Linked DNA regions of Homo sapiens: regions 1, 2, 3, 4 and 5 are each linked to region 6. Evidence: promoter capture Hi-C in human tissues and cell types (Jung and others, 2019). All regions are on one chromosome and are shown on one strand. Each heading gives the region's core, a stretch centred on a gene start or on the middle of the fragment in contact. The rest is flanking DNA. Distances are from core to core; before and after follow the strand shown. Region 1 has its middle 180 kb from the start of GMDS-DT. Region 2 overlaps GMDS-DT (GMDS divergent transcript). Region 3 overlaps GMDS-DT (GMDS divergent transcript). Region 4 overlaps GMDS-DT (GMDS divergent transcript). Region 5 overlaps GMDS (GDP-mannose 4,6-dehydratase). Region 6 holds the start of FOXC1 (forkhead box C1).

Evidence for each region. The method cuts DNA at HindIII sites, captures the fragments that hold promoters and counts their contacts. A contact is called where the count stands out against the background at its distance.
Region 1: a fragment that was not itself captured here is called in contact with the fragment with the promoter of FOXC1 in region 6 in 1 of the 25 tissues and cell types used here (IMR-90 fibroblasts).
Region 2: a contact is called between a fragment that was not itself captured here and the fragment with the promoter of FOXC1 in region 6, in 2 of the 25 tissues and cell types used here (lymphoblastoid cells and mesendoderm cells).
Region 3: a fragment that was not itself captured here is called in contact with the fragment with the promoter of FOXC1 in region 6 in 2 of the 25 tissues and cell types used here (dorsolateral prefrontal cortex and lymphoblastoid cells).
Region 4: a fragment that was not itself captured here is called in contact with the fragment with the promoter of FOXC1 in region 6 in 1 of the 25 tissues and cell types used here (spleen).
Region 5: a contact is called between a fragment that was not itself captured here and the fragment with the promoter of FOXC1 in region 6, in 2 of the 25 tissues and cell types used here (dorsolateral prefrontal cortex and lymphoblastoid cells).

What each region holds. Positions count from the first base shown.
Region 1 is chr6:2,427,398-2,430,097 of GRCh38, reverse strand. No RefSeq gene overlaps it. Among named protein-coding and RNA genes, the nearest start is that of GMDS-DT, 180 kb to the right of the region's middle. The HindIII fragment of the contact is 5,871 bases long and covers 1-2,700 here.
Region 2 is chr6:2,407,621-2,410,320 of GRCh38, reverse strand. All of the region lies in intron 6 of GMDS-DT (GMDS divergent transcript), which reads right to left. Among named protein-coding and RNA genes, the nearest start is that of GMDS-DT, 160 kb to the right of the region's middle. The HindIII fragment of the contact is 3,666 bases long and covers 1-2,700 here.
Region 3 is chr6:2,375,061-2,377,760 of GRCh38, reverse strand. The region is part of intron 4 of GMDS-DT (GMDS divergent transcript); the gene reads right to left. Among named protein-coding and RNA genes, the nearest start is that of GMDS-DT, 130 kb to the right of the region's middle. The HindIII fragment of the contact is 6,747 bases long and covers 1-2,700 here.
Region 4 is chr6:2,263,459-2,266,158 of GRCh38, reverse strand. GMDS-DT (GMDS divergent transcript) reads right to left here. Exons shown (of 7, transcript NR_046229.1): 3 at 2,475-2,558. Among named protein-coding and RNA genes, the nearest start is that of GMDS-DT, 19 kb to the right of the region's middle. The HindIII fragment of the contact is 4,554 bases long and covers 1-2,700 here.
Region 5 is chr6:2,148,201-2,150,900 of GRCh38, reverse strand. The region is part of intron 1 of GMDS (GDP-mannose 4,6-dehydratase); the gene reads left to right. Among named protein-coding and RNA genes, the nearest start is that of GMDS, 96 kb to the left of the region's middle. The HindIII fragment of the contact is 7,569 bases long and covers 1-2,700 here.
Region 6 is chr6:1,608,564-1,611,263 of GRCh38, reverse strand. FOXC1 (forkhead box C1) reads right to left here and starts at 1,349. Exons shown (of 1, transcript NM_001453.3): 1 at 1-1,349. The coding sequence starts at 818. RefSeq lists an enhancer at 492-591 and a silencer at 922-1,541. The HindIII fragment of the contact is 11,200 bases long and covers 1-2,700 here.

The DNA of each region.
Region 1 (2,700 bases), core at 61-2,560, 820 kb before region 6:
TGGTGGGAACACAGCACCTTCTCTATACACTGGGAGTTCTAATGGTCAATACACTCTGGTTTAGCACTTCACTAGAAATTCTTAGAAAATGTAGATTTAACTAAATTAAAAGTTTCCCCAAAGGCAAGCACACAACAGGGCATAAAGTAAATGATGAATAAATAATTTTTTATTTGATCCAACAGTCCCTTCCTTTCCTTTTATCATCTTAATTCACATACACTGAAGGTCTGATTCCTGAAGAATTAATCTTCTATTAAGGAAAATACAGTTTCGAATAGCACCAAAAACATTTATTTCTGGTCCCCACTTTCTCTTCCTTGTTCAGCCTGTCTGATCTCCCAGAGCAATAATACTGCTGACTCATTGGTACCTCCAACCCAGCGATCCAGGCCGTCTGTGGCCCACACCCATGTGATGCCCTTGAAGCTTAGTTTACATTCCATGGTAAATCGGTATAATCACTTCTTTGCACATATCCTCAGCTTCCTTGCTTCTTCTGGCTTGGTCACGCTTCCTTAACAAAAATACAATCTCAATCATGTCTTAACTCTCAAGAAACTCGACTCTACTTCCCTGAGAACATCACAGCACCCAGAAGAGAATGCTTACACTCCCACACCTCACCCACCCATTTCCCAGCATCTGTACCCATGCATTCTGCCTTCCTTCCTTTATTGCAGATAAATTGTACAATCTCCTGCTAAAGCAAAGCTCTCTATTTGCACTGTCCAGCCCATATCCTCAGGTCTACTCAAAGGCATTGCTCCCTGTCTCCTACATCACTATGTTTTCCCATTCAACCAGATTATCAGCATACAATCATACTACGCTTTCTCTCACTATAAAGTTTCACAGCCAGTTCTCAGTCCTCATCTTACTTGACTCATCAGTAGCTCCAGACATGGCCAATCACTCCTTTCTCCTTGATTCTCTTTCTTCATTTGACTTTCAGGACACCTCACTCCACTTTCCCCCCCACTTCACTGGTCTTTTCCTTCCCATCTTCACTGCTGGCTCCCCTCTACTCCCTGACCTCAGGTGTTGGAGTTTCCCAGAGCCATGTCTTGGCCTCCACCCTCTCTCTATAGACACTCCTTCCCCTTGGGATCTCATCCAGTCTCACAGCTGTAAACAGTATCTATATGCCAATGACCCTCCCTAGTCCACACCTCTCTCCCAAACTTCAGCGATCCACTCCACAGACCCCACAGATGTCTGATAAGCATGTCAACTTCAATGTGTCCAAAATCAAACTCTCAATCTTCCCTCCCCAACCAGCAGCCTTTCCCGTTTCAGTTGATGCTGACCCATCTCTAGAGTTGTTTATACCTCTTTCTTTCTCTTCTATGCCTCATCCTAACCTATGGGGAATTCTGACTCTACCTTCAAGATATCCCCAGGACCAAACTCTTCTCACCACCTGCCCTGCTGCTACCAGGTCCAACCCACTGTCATCTCTTGCCTAGATTCCTGCAATTACCTTCTAATAGATTCCCCCACTCCTACCCCACCTCCAGATCTACTCTCAAGGCAAGAGCCAACATTATCCTCAGAAAATGTTCTGCAGGTTATTCAGTCTTCTGCTGAGCACTCTCAGATGGCTTTCTGTGGCCCTCTGAGCAAAAGCAGAAGTCACCCATCCCAACCTACTCAGCTCCCATCATTCCCTCTTTGACCTCACCTGACCTTTCTCCTTAGTATTGCAGCCTGTCCCTACTATGACCCTCCATTGCCTGCCCTCTGGTCTATTTTTCTCCCGTCACTGCCCTCACCACCTTCTCATTGATCGTATAATCAATGTATTATCTGCCTTCCTTCACTGGAATATGAACTCCGTGGGGCAGGGTCTTTATTTTGTTCCCTGTTTTCTCCAAACATCTAGAACAATTTCTGCATGCCATAGGTGTCAACTTTCTTGGACCCACTAAACCAACTTTTTCTGAAGTCGTGTTTGTGCTTGTGGAAATGCAGATCAGGTCTCCCAGAATCCAGGAAGCAGATGGCCTGGGAGTGAGGGTGGGGCATCTGCACATTTAACAAGCTCTCAGGTCGTGCATATCCATGTGGAGTATCCCTGAGAATCACATGCGAAGTCTCTTAATGTCTTTTTAGATTCTGTACCCTTTCTTTAAATGTCAGTCTACAGGTTCCTAATCGATCAGACAGATAAATCCATGTGTAAGCAGACAGAGGTGGAAGGAGGGTCCTTGGAAACCCCGTCTCCTTGTAGTGGCCTCTGAGGGGAAAGGGCCATTCCCCAAGGCTTCATAGAATGAAGACATCTGGTGTAATGTGTAGCGCAAGCCTATTGCTTTTAGGAAATTTTTATTAACGTTAACTTTTTACTGACTCAATTCTCCTGATTGAATTAGACTGCACTAAAATTTAGAATGAGCCTAAAGATGCTAAAATATAAAACTCCCCTCTGGAAATGCAACTTTTCTCTCTCTGCTGCCCCCACTGTCACCCCCACCCAACCTGAGCACAGCTCCTGTCCCTCCCCACTCTGTGGAGGCTGCTGCATTCTGACAGTCTCAGTAGCTTTCTTTACCTCTTGCCACAGGAATCTTCTGCTGCCCTGGCCCATGCTGACTTCAGCCCCAGATCACCCTGATTCTCTCTTTTCTCCATTCCTCTTCCTCGATTTCCCAAATACTACCAAAGTAAATGATGCACCCATGTGGATTGGCTCCATTG
Region 2 (2,700 bases), core at 4-2,503, 800 kb before region 6:
AAGCTCTTTCAAGTGGCCTTGATTTGCCTAAAACTCATCACCCCATCACCTGGTCCTTTACCCTAAGAAAATAACCCTGCCCCAATTCAAAGAGAAAAGAAGTCATCAGATCAGTAATCCCTCAGATTTCTCCCACAAAATATACAGATTTAACCTGTAAGTACATTCACCTTTTCTTCTCCCTCCCTATTAAAATGAAACAGGTGCCCTCCCCCCTCATCTATGGTTACTTCACCTCCACTCTGGAGCCCACCCTTCTGCATCCAAGGGACTTTCCCTCTCATGACTATCTCCCTCTCCTTTTCCTTCACCGTCTCCTTCTATACAGGCTCATTCTCAACCACAGAGAAATGTACTCAAATCCCCCTTACTTTAAATAAAGAGCAGCCGGGCACAGTAGCTCACGCCTGTAATCCCAACACTTTGGAAGGCCCAGATGGGCAGATTGCTTGAGCCCAGGAGTTCAAGACCAGCCTGGGTAACACCGTGAAACTCCATCTCTACAAACAAACAAAAAATGGCCAAGTACGGTGGCTCACTCCTGTAATCCCAGCACTTTGGGAGGCCAAAGTGGGTGGAGTTTGAGAACAGCCTGGCCAACATGGTGAAGCCCCATCTCTACTAAAAATACAAAACTAGCCGGGCCTGATGGAGTGTGCCTGTAATCCCAGCTACCTGGGAGGCTGAGGTGGGAGGATTGCTTGAGCCCGGGAGGTCAAGGCTGCAGTAAGTTGTGATCGCACCACTGCTCTCCAGCCTGGGTGACAGAGCAAGACCCTGTCTCAAAAACAAACAAACAAAAAAGCATACTGAAACCCCATTTTTCCTTACCTACTCTTATCCCTCCAACTACTTGGTATTCTGGCATGAATCCTAGGCAGTTTCCATGTTAAAAGAGAGGATTCACAAGGTTCTACCAGGAAATGCCTTTATTCTATGCACCCCTCATTTCAACCTGTCCTGTGGAATTTGTTCCTGCCCTCCTCTGGAAGGGAGATTGGGTACAACCATAGTTGTAAGAATATACAAGAGTGGTCTTCTTTTTGCCATTGGTGTACTTGTTCCTCTGTCTTAATCAAAATTCTGAACTTTACTTAAAGCTTCTCCCCACTCTCGGCTTTGCCTTGGAGGCCTTGGAGTGGGCAGGGGTCTCTTGTCTTTCTAAGCTTCATGCTTCTGTACTGTCCCCTCCTCACAAATCCTCCTCTGGCTCCTCCTGGGAGAAAGCCAAGGCCAGGGAAGCTCTGATTTGGCAGACAGTGCCTCCACCTTCTAATAGTGCTCCCTTGTCTTGGGGACCCCCAAAACTGACTATTTTTCCTGGAGTACATTTAAGAGACGTTCTGCATAACTGTGGATCTCTCAAAAAGCTCCCTGCTTCCCATGTTTAGCCACTTACAACTCCCTATTAACTCTGTTTCTGATGGTCCAATCAACACAAACTCTCTCCCCGGTCGGGTCTCTGGCTCTCCAGGTGGCCCTTTTAGGTAAAGTCCACTTAAACGTGACTCCAGACATTTATTTCCAAGTCTGGTGGACTAGAAACCCTAAATGACCCAGCCCCAATTTCAGAAAAGGAAAATAAATGAAACTGGATAAATATGAAACAAAAGAAAATAACATTTTAGTGAATCAACATGCCAGCAATAAAGTGAGGCATCTATCTTACTCTGAAACTTGGAAGCAGGAGTTTCCAGTTTCAAAGTAAGATACTGAGCCTGGGAACTACGGAAAGTAAGGAAGATCCAAAGCAGCCTCCACCCAAAACTAAGTACTGAACTCTGATGACCTTTCGTTTCCATTTGAGAGCTACAGGGGCATGAGAAACAGAAAATTAAGCCCACCCAAGGTGGAGAGACTGCCCCACCAAGTGAAGCCTAGAACATCTATAGCCTTAGTATAAGGGTAAGTAGGAAACAGACTAGCAAAGAAGGGGAAAGAAAGAACATGCCTATCTTGAGAAGTCTTAACTACAATCCCCACTCATATGGGTTTTCAGCCAATACACACTATGTCTGTGTTTTGAAAAAACAGACAAATTGGTCTCAAGCTGGTCATGCCCCAGGTGACTTCTAGAAGAAATGTCATATACAGGTGCTCCTCGACTTACCATGAGGTTACCTCCTGATAAACTCATTGTAAGTTGAAAATATCATAGGTCTAAAATGCATTTAATATGACTAGCCTACCAAACATCAGAGCTTGGCCTAGTCACCTTCGTTGTGCTCAGAATTTACATTAGCCTGCAGCTGGGCAACAGACAACACAGCTCACTGTCACTTATCAGTTGTTTGCCCTTACGATCATGATCCCCTGGCTGACTGCCTAGCATCTCAAAAGAGGATCATGCAGTTTTCCGTGAATGCATATCACTTTTGCACCATAGTAAAGTCAAAAAATTGTGAAGTCAAACCATCATAAGTCAGGGACCATCTGTACTCTCAAAAGGAACCCAACCTCAACTCAATCTCAAAGAATTTCAACAGATAAAGTCTCAAGAAACAGAAATACAGAAGGAAACAAGGAACAAGAGCCAGGAACATGAGCAAGTAGCAGCAGAACATGCAGACACACCCACACATGTTGCAGATTGGGTGCTTTGGAAGCAGCCACAGGGTCAGACCTTGGAATACAGTGTTTATTAGGGTCAGCAACTGTGAAAGGGAGGAGAAGGAGAAGTTGAACTGTAATGTAGCTCTA
Region 3 (2,700 bases), core at 123-2,622, 770 kb before region 6:
TAAAATGGTATTTGCATATAACCTACACACATCCTCCTGTATACTTCAAATCATCTCAAGTCCTTATAACACCTAATATAATGTAAATGCTATATGAGTGGTTTTATAGTGCATTCTTTTAATTTGTGTTGTTTTTATTGTTGTGTTGTTATTTTTTATTGTTTTTTTTTCTGAATATTTGTCATCCATGGTTAGTTGAATTCATGGATACACAGAGCAACTGGACTAAAGTTAACCTTGGACTAGTCCTGAGTGAACCTCTGAAATGTTAACTGGAGTATATGTTCAGAACACGCTTCTTGGTGGCAAATATTTTTGAATCAACAAATGAACCAGCTTCTCCTGGGGCAGGCTATTTTTAACATGTTTTAAAATGACCTCTCACTGTTCCGTGGGTGGGTGGGCAGCTGTTTGCAATTACAGCCATCTATGTGGTCCACAGGTATGCCAGCGCTGGGGAATCTGGCTTTTTGTGAAATGTTTTTAAGTAACTTGCTGCCACACTGCACTCAGCAGCCAAACCACACCAAATGGAAATGTACTAAAAGAGATGGGCCGAGCAAAGCGCTCCCTGAAAAACAGACAAGTGACTCATGCTCATAAAATATCACTACCATGGTGACTCTTCAAACACGCTGCCCCGTCCTCGGAGGGGCGCGCATGGCATTTCTGCCAACCGTTTATTGGCCTATTGTTGAGAATGATGGTTTTTTCACAGTGGCTTCTTACTTCTTTATTGGCAAGGCCAGAAGACACGTTGGTGCTGAAGACAGGCCTTCTCAGCTCCGGGAGGAAGAAAACCTCCTTCCCGGACTGCTGCAAACTTCTAAACAAAAGCCTGCAGCCAATTGCACTGTAGCAACCACCAGCAAGGGTGTGAGTGGGTTTTTTGTTGGTGGTGTTCTGAGGCATTGAAATGAAGCAAATAGTCACATGAAGGATTTCTGGAAAATACACGCTCTTTTCATCCTTTCAAAAGCTGTCAAGCCTTAGAATACGGAAATGGCAGTTTGGAAAGCTCCTTATTTGGAAAGAGTTAACCCCACGTCCCTCCAGGCTACCTGCTCCCATCAGGGTTCTTCAGCTGCTCACCCCTGACTGGCTGTGCCTGCTTTTCCCCATCCGGCTGTGAGTGGGCACACACGTGTGGTGTGTGTGTGCACATGTGTACATGTGTGGTGGATACATGTGGTATGGTGTGTGTGTACGTGTTAGTTGTGTATATGGGGGGGTTGTGTGTGCAGTCTGTTGTGGAGTGTGTGGGATGTCAGCGTGTGTTGGGTGTGTGTGCTGAGTGTGTGTATATTTGTATATGTGTGTGTAATGCATTGGGTTGGTGTGTGTGTTGGGTATATTTGGAGGTTTGTGTGTGGTGTGTAGAGGGTGTGTGGTGTGTATATGTGCTGGGTGTGTGTGTGTTGGGTGTGGGTATGTGTGTTTATATGTGTATGTGTGTTTGGTGTGTTGAGTTTGTGTGTGGTGTGGTGCATGTGTTGGGGATATAGTGGAGGTTTAGAGTTTGTGGGGAGGGGTTGAGTGTGTGTGGTGTGTGGAGTCTGTGTGGTGTCAATGTGTTTTGGATGTGTACATATGTGTATGTGTGTGTGGTGTGTTGGATTTGGATGTGCTGTGTGTGTGTTGGGTGTAGGGGAGGTTGTATATGTGTTATGTGTATAACAAGGGACAAATGCTCTTAGCACAAACAGGAAAGATTTCTACCCCACAAAAAAATTCATTTTTATGCCACGTCCTGTGGTCATTGCCAGAGCCAAAGCTTCATACTTATTCCACGATGCAGGAGACACTCTCCACCTGCCCTGATGACACCTGGGGCGTCATACGGCCTACAAATCAACGAGAAGTTGCCAACTGGTTTTTCTGCATTTTATATTATGCTATAGTGGTGGCGGCCAAATATTCGAATAGACTATCTTCATTTTGTTTTACTACCTCTTTCTAACTCGTCCATAATCATCACATTGGAACAAAGGAGGAAGTCAAGAAGAAAGGACAAGTAGGAACATAAGAGAGAAGACGGAAAGGGGAACAGAGAAACAGAGAGACGGCACACCGGGAGACGTTCAGCAGGGCTGCTCAGCGTGGCCTGCACGCGCCCTGGAGGAGGAACGCCCTCGCACCTCCCGGAAACCCAGAACAATTGCCCGAGTGTATCTGAGGATCCATGAATTAACGGTCCCAGAACTGTCATCACCCTCTCACTAACACGCTCTCACCTGTGACATGTTGGCTGGCCCGGGTTTGCAGGTTCAAAGCCGGCTTTGTATACCCACTCCCTCACCATTCCCTTGTGAAATGTGTTCAATTTTCCCCACACGCACACTTCTACGTAATTGTTGCATGTTCTTGTGCTTAATGAGAATAGCATAATACTCAGGTAAAGAAGCCCCAGGTGTTCTGGAACAGTGGTGTTTCAGACAAGAGCTTTGAGGGGGGAGGAGGCACAAACATGGATGTCATCCTTTAGACACTGCACTCAAATTCACAACCTTCCTTCAATCTCAATTGTCCTTGAGATCAAATCAAATTATTACTATTGTTAAACAGGTGACTAGCTTAAATGGCAGCAGCAAGCAGTGCGAGGAGGGCTTGCAGTTGTGCTGATTTCCCCCATAAAATGCTGTACTAAATAAACTTTCAACCTCCATTTCCATCTGTCTAGGGATTTTCAACAAATTCAAT
Region 4 (2,700 bases), core at 140-2,639, 650 kb before region 6:
GACTTGGAAGATATATAATAAGTATTAAGGGAAAGTTTCAGTAACGTTCTTAGTTAAGGATATCAATGAACAGTGGTAATAATGTTTGGTCCAATTTATGCCTTGATTGATTTAAATTCCTGATAACTAAAATGAGAAGGGAAACTTGGCTTAATTAGGAGGTATACTGTATTTTTTTAATGATCATAGATTTCACTATTGGAAGGGAACAAAAACGATAATTTTCTCCAGCACCCTAAGACCTTGCTCCCTGGGGGCCAGGGCTGTGTCTTTGTCTCTAGAGTTTGCTGAGATTCTGGAATGTGTGCTCAGGAAATAGAGTGAGAGAGGGGAGGCATATCTGCCCCATTTAATTGTGAAGCAATGGAGGACAAAGAAGTTTCCTGAGATTACATAACCATCAACAGTTACAATCCCAGATTTTCTGCATCCTCTTGTGGGACATGACAAGAAATAGATACCTGGTCTCTGCTCCTGATTCCTGACACAGAGTTCCAAAAACCTTTGTAACTGCCTGGATGATAGGAATGCTGGGAACATCTTTTTGTTATAATATTTGGTCTTAGTCCCCAGTTTCTAACACAAGAGCTTCTAAGACCCTTGGAATTTCTGGAGTGATGAATGTCCTTCTCTAATGAAATGACTCGGTATTGGGGGCCCTAGATAGCTTCAGGATGGGGTTTGGGGAATGGAGACCAAGGCATGATCAGAGGGATGGACTTCCTGCCTCCCCAACCTTCAGGGAGGGCAAAGGGGCTGGAGATTGAGTTAATCACCAATGGCTCATGCCCAAATAATAAAGTCTGAATAAAAACCATTAAATTTCTTATTCCTCTGCCCCTCACACCTCATCGTCTTACCACTACCATGCCCATCCCTTTGCCATCCTGAAATTCTTTTCCTTCTGGTTTTTAAGCCTAGCTAAAGTGACCTCTGACAGCACAGGATACTGAAAGAGAAAGATCAGGACTTCTATTTCCTCCTGTAGGCTGTGTCCTGTACTGTCTTGTGGGAAAGAAGTTGGCTTATAGCAGGATGAGTCAGAAATCGGGGACTGTTTCCTAACACTAGGTAGTCCCTATGCCTTCTCCTTGTCAGATGTGGTTTTGTTCACTATTAGGTTGATCCACTTTGAGTGTTCAGGAAATACCTAGTTCCATCAGTCCTAGTTTCCATTCATGGGGATGGGTGACTCCTGAACATTCATTCATAGGATGGTCCTACCTAGGCTCTACACATGTTCATACAGGTGTAAGAGCCAGACCCCAGTAGCAGATGAAAACTCTATGATGTGTATCTCTTATGCACTGGTCTCATGCATGAGTGGAGGTGCTGGCCATTTGGGCTCTACCCATCCACATAAGGATTTCTAGAATCCAAGCCTATCCATCTGAAGGTGCTCATACCATTCTAGAGCCTTCCCGTCTCCCCAAGGCACATTGTTTCCTTAATCACTAGTGGGGCATCTGTCCCTTTGTTCTGCCTGCATATAGTCAGCTTGTCGTAAGAATACTAGAATGGCAGGGATTTCTACCCTATGGGCCTCTTTACATGACTGGCATGCTCCATTTACCACTGTGGTAGTCAAAAAAGCTCTCTGTCTAAAAACGGCCTTAATATGCTAGGTCTTTGCCTGACATTAGCATTCAAGGCCTAACGGGGTTTGTCTTAATGTGTTCTGGCTGCTATGACTATGTACCACAGGCTGCATGGCTTGAACAACAGGATTTATTTTCTCACAGTTCTGAAGGCAAGAGGTCCAAGATTAAGGTGTTGGAAAATTTGGTTTCTGGTGAGGCCTTACTTTCTGGCTTGCAGATGGCTGCCTTCTTCTTGTGTCCTCACATGGAGTCTCTGTTCCCTCCCCTTCAGCCTGCACATGACTTTGCAACTGCCTTGACTAACAAAGTACAGCTGAAGGCAATACAACATCTACCTAGCTCTCTCTCAGGATACTTGGCCTTGGGAACCAGCCATTGTGCTGTGAGAATGCCTAGCTCTGAGCTGTGGCTGAGCTCCCACACAGAGGCAGTGAGTACCGACTTGCCAACTGTGTGTTAGCTAGCCTGGAGGTGGACCTTCCAGCCACTGAATGTCCCTGTGAGGCAGAGATGAGCCTTCCCTGCAGAGCCCTGCCCAGATTGCAATTAACAGGCAACATAAATGACCATTGTTGTTTAAATCACCAAGTTTTGGGGTGGTTTACTAAGCAATAATAGGCACCAGGAACAATTGGGGATAAGTCTTTTCTCTTGTTGCTTCCTTGTAATATAATTTTTAACTCCTCAGAACATAAAAGAGATTTCTCCAGACTTTTGTTAAGCTTTTAGAAATATAACTGGTTCAAAAGGAATGACTGAATATATGCATCTACATCTTTTTTATTCCAATATCCTGATGAAATTATAAAAGAGATTTCATATTTTAAAAATCCAGCAAACTAAAGCTGACACTGTATAAAATGAAATACATACCATGATCAACAGGGGTTTATCCCACATGCATAAGGCTGGCTCAACATTCAAAAATCAATTAAGGTAGTCCATCACATCAACTGGCTAAAAAAGAAAATCATATGATCTTATCAATATACACAGAAAAGACATTTGACAAAATCCACTGCCTGTTTATGATAAAAACACTCAGCCTACTAAGAATAGAGGGGAGCTTCCTAAACCTGCTAAATAATATATCTGTTTA
Region 5 (2,700 bases), core at 121-2,620, 540 kb before region 6:
TTAGCTAGAAGCTGTGAACTTTGACTGTGGTCTGTATAAATTTTTGTGGAATAGAGATAGCTTGTATTAGGTATCATATAATTAAAGATAGAAGTGTTGATAACAGAAGTGGTAGTCAGCCTAAGCACTTTTAAATTTACTGAGTAATTAGAACTCAGTTTATGGCCAAAATCTTCAAAGTTTGCAGAAACACCCCATCTTTTAAATATTCTTTAGTTTAAGATTGTTGTGGATTCTTAATCTGAAATAATTGCTTCTTATAGGTGGAAATAATTTTAGAGATTACTTTAGGGTGTGAAGCCCTAATTTTATAGATGAGAAAACTGAAGCCAAAAGAAGTTAGTGGTTTTCCCACAGGACATTGTTATAAATGGTAAAGCTAATCTGATACTGGAATCCACATCCCTAGAATTCCATGGAGATAGTTTCGTGTTAGTGGGAGAGGTAGACTTTATAGCCAGAGGCATTCCACTTAGTGAAATTTTATTTTTATGTTTAAAAATTTTTATTTTTTTAAAATAGAAAGGAGTCTCACTGTGTAGCCCAGGCTTTTCTTGAACTCCTGGGCTCAAATGGTCCCACCTCAGCCTCCCAAAATGCCAGGATTAGAGTCATGAACCACTGCATCTGGCCTTAGTGAAATCATTAATTTATTTCACCTTGATCAGAAGTTGGTGATTTCATTGTCATTCTAGTCAGTTCCAAATACCGTTAATCTGTATATACCTGTTCCTAAATGAAAATTATTTTACAAGTACTTGATCTTCTCTCACAATACGTACTAGATGGAATGAGTGTTTTTTCAAGGAAATAATAAAATACTTACAAACTGTAAGAATACTGGGTCGTGGCAGTGTTTGCCTTGAGCATATTGTTAATATGATTAAAAATATCAGGACTCAACCTATACAGCAAACCAAAATAGAGGGTCTTTTAAAATTTTTCTGTTATTTCCAGGATATAAGGTAATTTTAAGACATGTGAAGAAGATGAAAAAAAGAAAGAGAAAGCTCCCAAGCAAAAAACCTTGGGACTTAGTTAATGCACACAATCCTGGCTGGAATCTGCTGTGTGTACTCAGTCTCCCCACAGCTTGTAAAGTCAGTTAAATATAGTCACCGTTGGGTTCTGGGGACGAGCAAATAGGAAAAGAAGGGAAAGCTGGAGGCGTGTTGTAGAAATACACTTCAAAGTAATTTATTCTAACGCTTTTTAAAGCCCTCTTTGTAAATGCACTTTTAAATAGTAGTTCTGTTTCCTTGAATCCACGCAAGAGCATAAAATAGACTGGATTCAGAACTGGCGTGGGAATATTGTCAGCTCCATTACTGCCTGTGTTGGGACAGCTGCTCTGCTCCACGCTGCCTAGTTTCTTTTAATGGACCTAGGTTCAGGTGGCTGAAAAAGCCATTCTGTGGTAGACGCCTCACATAATCCTTATGTGCGTGTTTATTGTGTGTGCCTGTTCATGGGAGTTCTGTGGCAGTTAAATTGTCCACCCAGGATTTCCAGACAGAAGGAAACACACATGTAAGTGATGCAGTATTTGCTGGTGGTGTGGCTAAAAAAATAAAAAGTCAATACACCTTGTTCTCTTTACATTCATTTTAATGAAATCAACAAAACTGATGCTCTCTTCAAATCAAACCACTGGCTGTTCAATGATTTTTCCAATTAATAAGAATATATAGTTGCCTACCTTTTTTTTCTGTGAGCTAAGCATTCCAAGATAAAGCCCTTAATCATCTTAAATTGTCGGGGATAACTTTGAGCAAGCAGAAGAAATGTTATGTGCGTCTATTTTTATTCTTTTCCGTATTTTATGTCATCAAGGTCTTGCTTTCCTCATTGGTGAAGCAGTTATATTAGGTGATCCCTCAGGTGCTCTCCATGTCTGATGTGATGATTCGTAACCATGCTGTGGAAGCCTGCTGTATCAGCGGTACCTGCATGTTGTACCTCTAGGGTAGGGTGCTTGTGTTACAGTGCAGTCCAGATGAGCAGTTTCTCACGTGTTCTACCGTATTGCTGCATGTCCGTGAATGGTGCTCCCATAGACTTACTCAGATTTGGGGTTTTTATGAAACACAGCTTCCTAAACTTCACCTCTTTGACAAAGCTGATATAATACACAGGATGTAATAATAGGTCTTTGAGAACCTTCCATCAAGACTAACTTCAGGCCGGACGTGGTGGTTCATGCCTGTAATCCCAGCACTTTGGGAGGCCAAGGCGGGCGGATCACCTGAGGTCAGGAGTTGGAGACCAGCCTGGCCAACATGGTGAAACACCTGCTCTACTAATAATACAAAATTAGCCAGGCGTGGTGGTGCATGCCTGTAATCCCAGCTACTTGAGAGGCTGAGGCAGGAGAATAGCTTGAACCCAGGACGTGAAGGTTTCAGTGAGCAGAGATCACACCATTGCACTCCAGCCTGGGCGACAAGAGGTAAACTCCATCTCAAAAAAAACAAAAACAAACAAACAAACAAAAACTTGATAGATGTGAATACAAACTCAGAGATCAGAGAATGCTTGTAAGTCTCATATTTATACTTTGCTGCCCGGCTTACGACTTGGAGGTGCATGTTGAATCACTGAATAGATCTATTAACTGGAGGTGTCCACACTGCAAATCAGAATTTGCCACACTTGGCTTAGTCATACCAGCATTTAATTTATTTTGGATCAGCCCTTCTA
Region 6 (2,700 bases), core at 100-2,599:
GGGCTGCTCCCGCTGGACAGGCTGCTGCTGCTGCTGTCGGGGCTCTCGATCTTGGGCACCGCGGCGGCGCTGCCGCTGCCCAGGGCGGCGGCCGGGGACAGGGGCTGGGGCGGCGAGGGGCACGTACCGTTCTCGGTCTTGATGTCCTGGATGCGCACGGGCGGCGGCTGCGGACCGGGCGCGTTGCCGTCGGCCTGCTCCGGCGGCGCGGGCGGGGGCTGGCGGCCGGGCGGGGGCGGCTCCTTGAGGTGCAGCCTGTCCTTCTCCTCCTTGTCCTTCACCGCGTCCTTCTTCTTGAAGCGCCGCCGCCGCCGCAGGAAGCTGCCGTTCTCGAACATGTTGTAGGAGTCCGGGTCCAGCGTCCAGTAGCTGCCCTTGCCCGGCTTCTTGTCGTCGCGCGGCACCTTGACGAAGCACTCGTTGAGCGAGAGGTTGTGGCGGATGCTGTTCTGCCAGCCCTGCTTGTTGTCCCGGTAGAAGGGGAAGCGGTCCATGATGAACTGGTAGATGCCGTTCAGGGTGATCTTCTTGTCCGGGGCGTTCTGGATGGCCATGGTGATGAGCGCGATGTAGCTATAGGGCGGCTTCACCATGTCCTTGGGCTGCGGCTGCGGCGTGTAGGGCCCGTAGGCGCGGGCCATGCCGCCCGGGTACTGCTCGGCGTGCGCAGGGTGCGAGTACACGCTCATGGGGGCCGGCATGGCGGTGTAGCCGCCCCCGGCCGCCGCGGCCGCCGCGCGGTAGTAGCTCTGCTCGCCGCCGAGGTAGGGCACCACTCCCAGGGAGTTGGGGCTGGACACGGAGTAGCGCGCCTGCATGGCCCCCGCTCGCCGCCGCCCCGCGCCGCCCGCCGCCCCCCACCCTCGCTCGGGCCGGGCCGCGCCGCGCCGGCCGCCGAGTCCGAGTCCGGGCCCGGCCGAGCTGGTGCCGGCCCGCTGCGCTGTGCGTCCGGCTGCGCTGCCGCCTCTCCCGGCGCTCGCTGGGGCTGGCTCCTCCGGCGCCTCGGGCTACCTCGGGGCCCGCGCGGCCGCGAGGCGGGGTCGCTGCGAGGGGAGAAGGCCGGGCCCGGCCGCGGCAGACCGCCTTGCAGGAACTCGCGGCGCAGCTTCCAGGCGCAAACGGGGGAAAGCAGACAAAAAGAAAGAACAAGCAGGCGCCCTTCTCGCCACACTGCCTGCGCCTTCCAGGAGACTCTGCCCTGAGCTGCCGGCGAAGGCGGCCAAATAACCAGGGCGGGGGGGGGGGGGGCCGCGCGCCGGCCGCCTGCCCGGGCCCCGCGTCACCTTTTCTCGGTCTCTCGCGCGCCAGCCGCTTAAGGAAGCATTGGGAAAACTTCTGAACTTTTGAGCATCCGTCACCCAGGCGAGGACTTTTTTACGCAGTTACACTTTTTTCCGGGCAGCGGAGCCCCGCCCCGCCAGCGGCGGCAGCCAATGGGAGGTGAGAACCGCCTCCGAATGAGCCGGAGGCCGAGCCCTGCCGGCCCGCTCCCGGAGGCCGGAGGACCGCGGGGCTGACCACACGCGCGCCGGCCGCCCTGGCCCGGGCCCCGGCCCTGCGCCCGCGCCGGCGCCCGGCCCGCCGTCGGTTCGCCCCCCGCAGTCCACCTGCCTGCCGCCGGCGCCCGGCAGACCTCCCACCCCGGGCCCTCCGGACCCACGCCCGCCGTTCGCGCAGACTTCCTGGGTCCTCCCGGGACCCCGTGCAGACCCTTCCTTCGCCCACGGCTCCCGAGTGGCCCTGGCGTCTCCGCCCCGCCTCGTGCTGGCTCGCTCTCATTCCTTCGCCAGCCCCGCCGACGCCAGCGCTGGGGTTGCCCCAGCCTCTCCTCCCCGCCGCCTCTCCCCTCCCGCAGCCCCTTCCCTCCCTTCTCCAACGCCAGTCTCACTCGGGTCACTGACGTCTCCGGCTTTTCTCCACTTGGAGGTTCTCCTGTCCTGAACTCGGCTACAAAGGACATGATTTTGAGGGCTCGGTCACAGCCAGGCCCTGCTCGCGGTGGGGAAGAAGGTTCGTCGCCCATCTGGCCCCCCTCCATGACCCCTCCCCAGCCGAAATGAAGGCAAGGGGTGCGGGGCCCTGCTGGGAGTTTCCGACGGCCGTTCACCCGCGAAGGATGAGCCCGCCCCGCTGCGGGCCGCCCTGCTTCTCGCCCCCCTCCCCGGGGGGCCGGCCCTTGGCGGCCTGAGGGTGCGGGCGGCGAGGGCTGCCGGAGCCCGGCTGCTGCCCCGCGCTCCCCTGCCCGCCCGCGAGGGTCCCACCGGCTCGCCGCGCCGCCGCCCCCTCTGATCCCGTCAGGCCCGTTTCGGCTCAGATGAGGGGTCAGGCTGCGGGCTCGGTGACATTAGCAGGTGTGATGACAAGAAGCAAATAAATATGTCTAAGAGCTTAACGCTTCCCCAGGCCAGTCTCCATCTCCACATGCGCGGGGCTGCCGGCTCGCAGAGACAACGGGTGTGTCTGGGGGAACGTCCAGGGTCGCACCTAGAGGGCGGTTCAAGGATTCTGGGGGGACACGCACGGAAGGGCCCCCGCTCGTTGTGCACACGCCTGAGATTCGCCGTCGCTGGGTGGTTGGAATGGGACAGGAAGAAGAGAAATGAGGGAAAGAAACGAAGGAGCGGGAAAGAGCCAGGCCTCCCTCCCCCGGCACGGCGATTCTGCATTTTAGCGACTTGAGGAGAGACCCTCCCGGAGGCT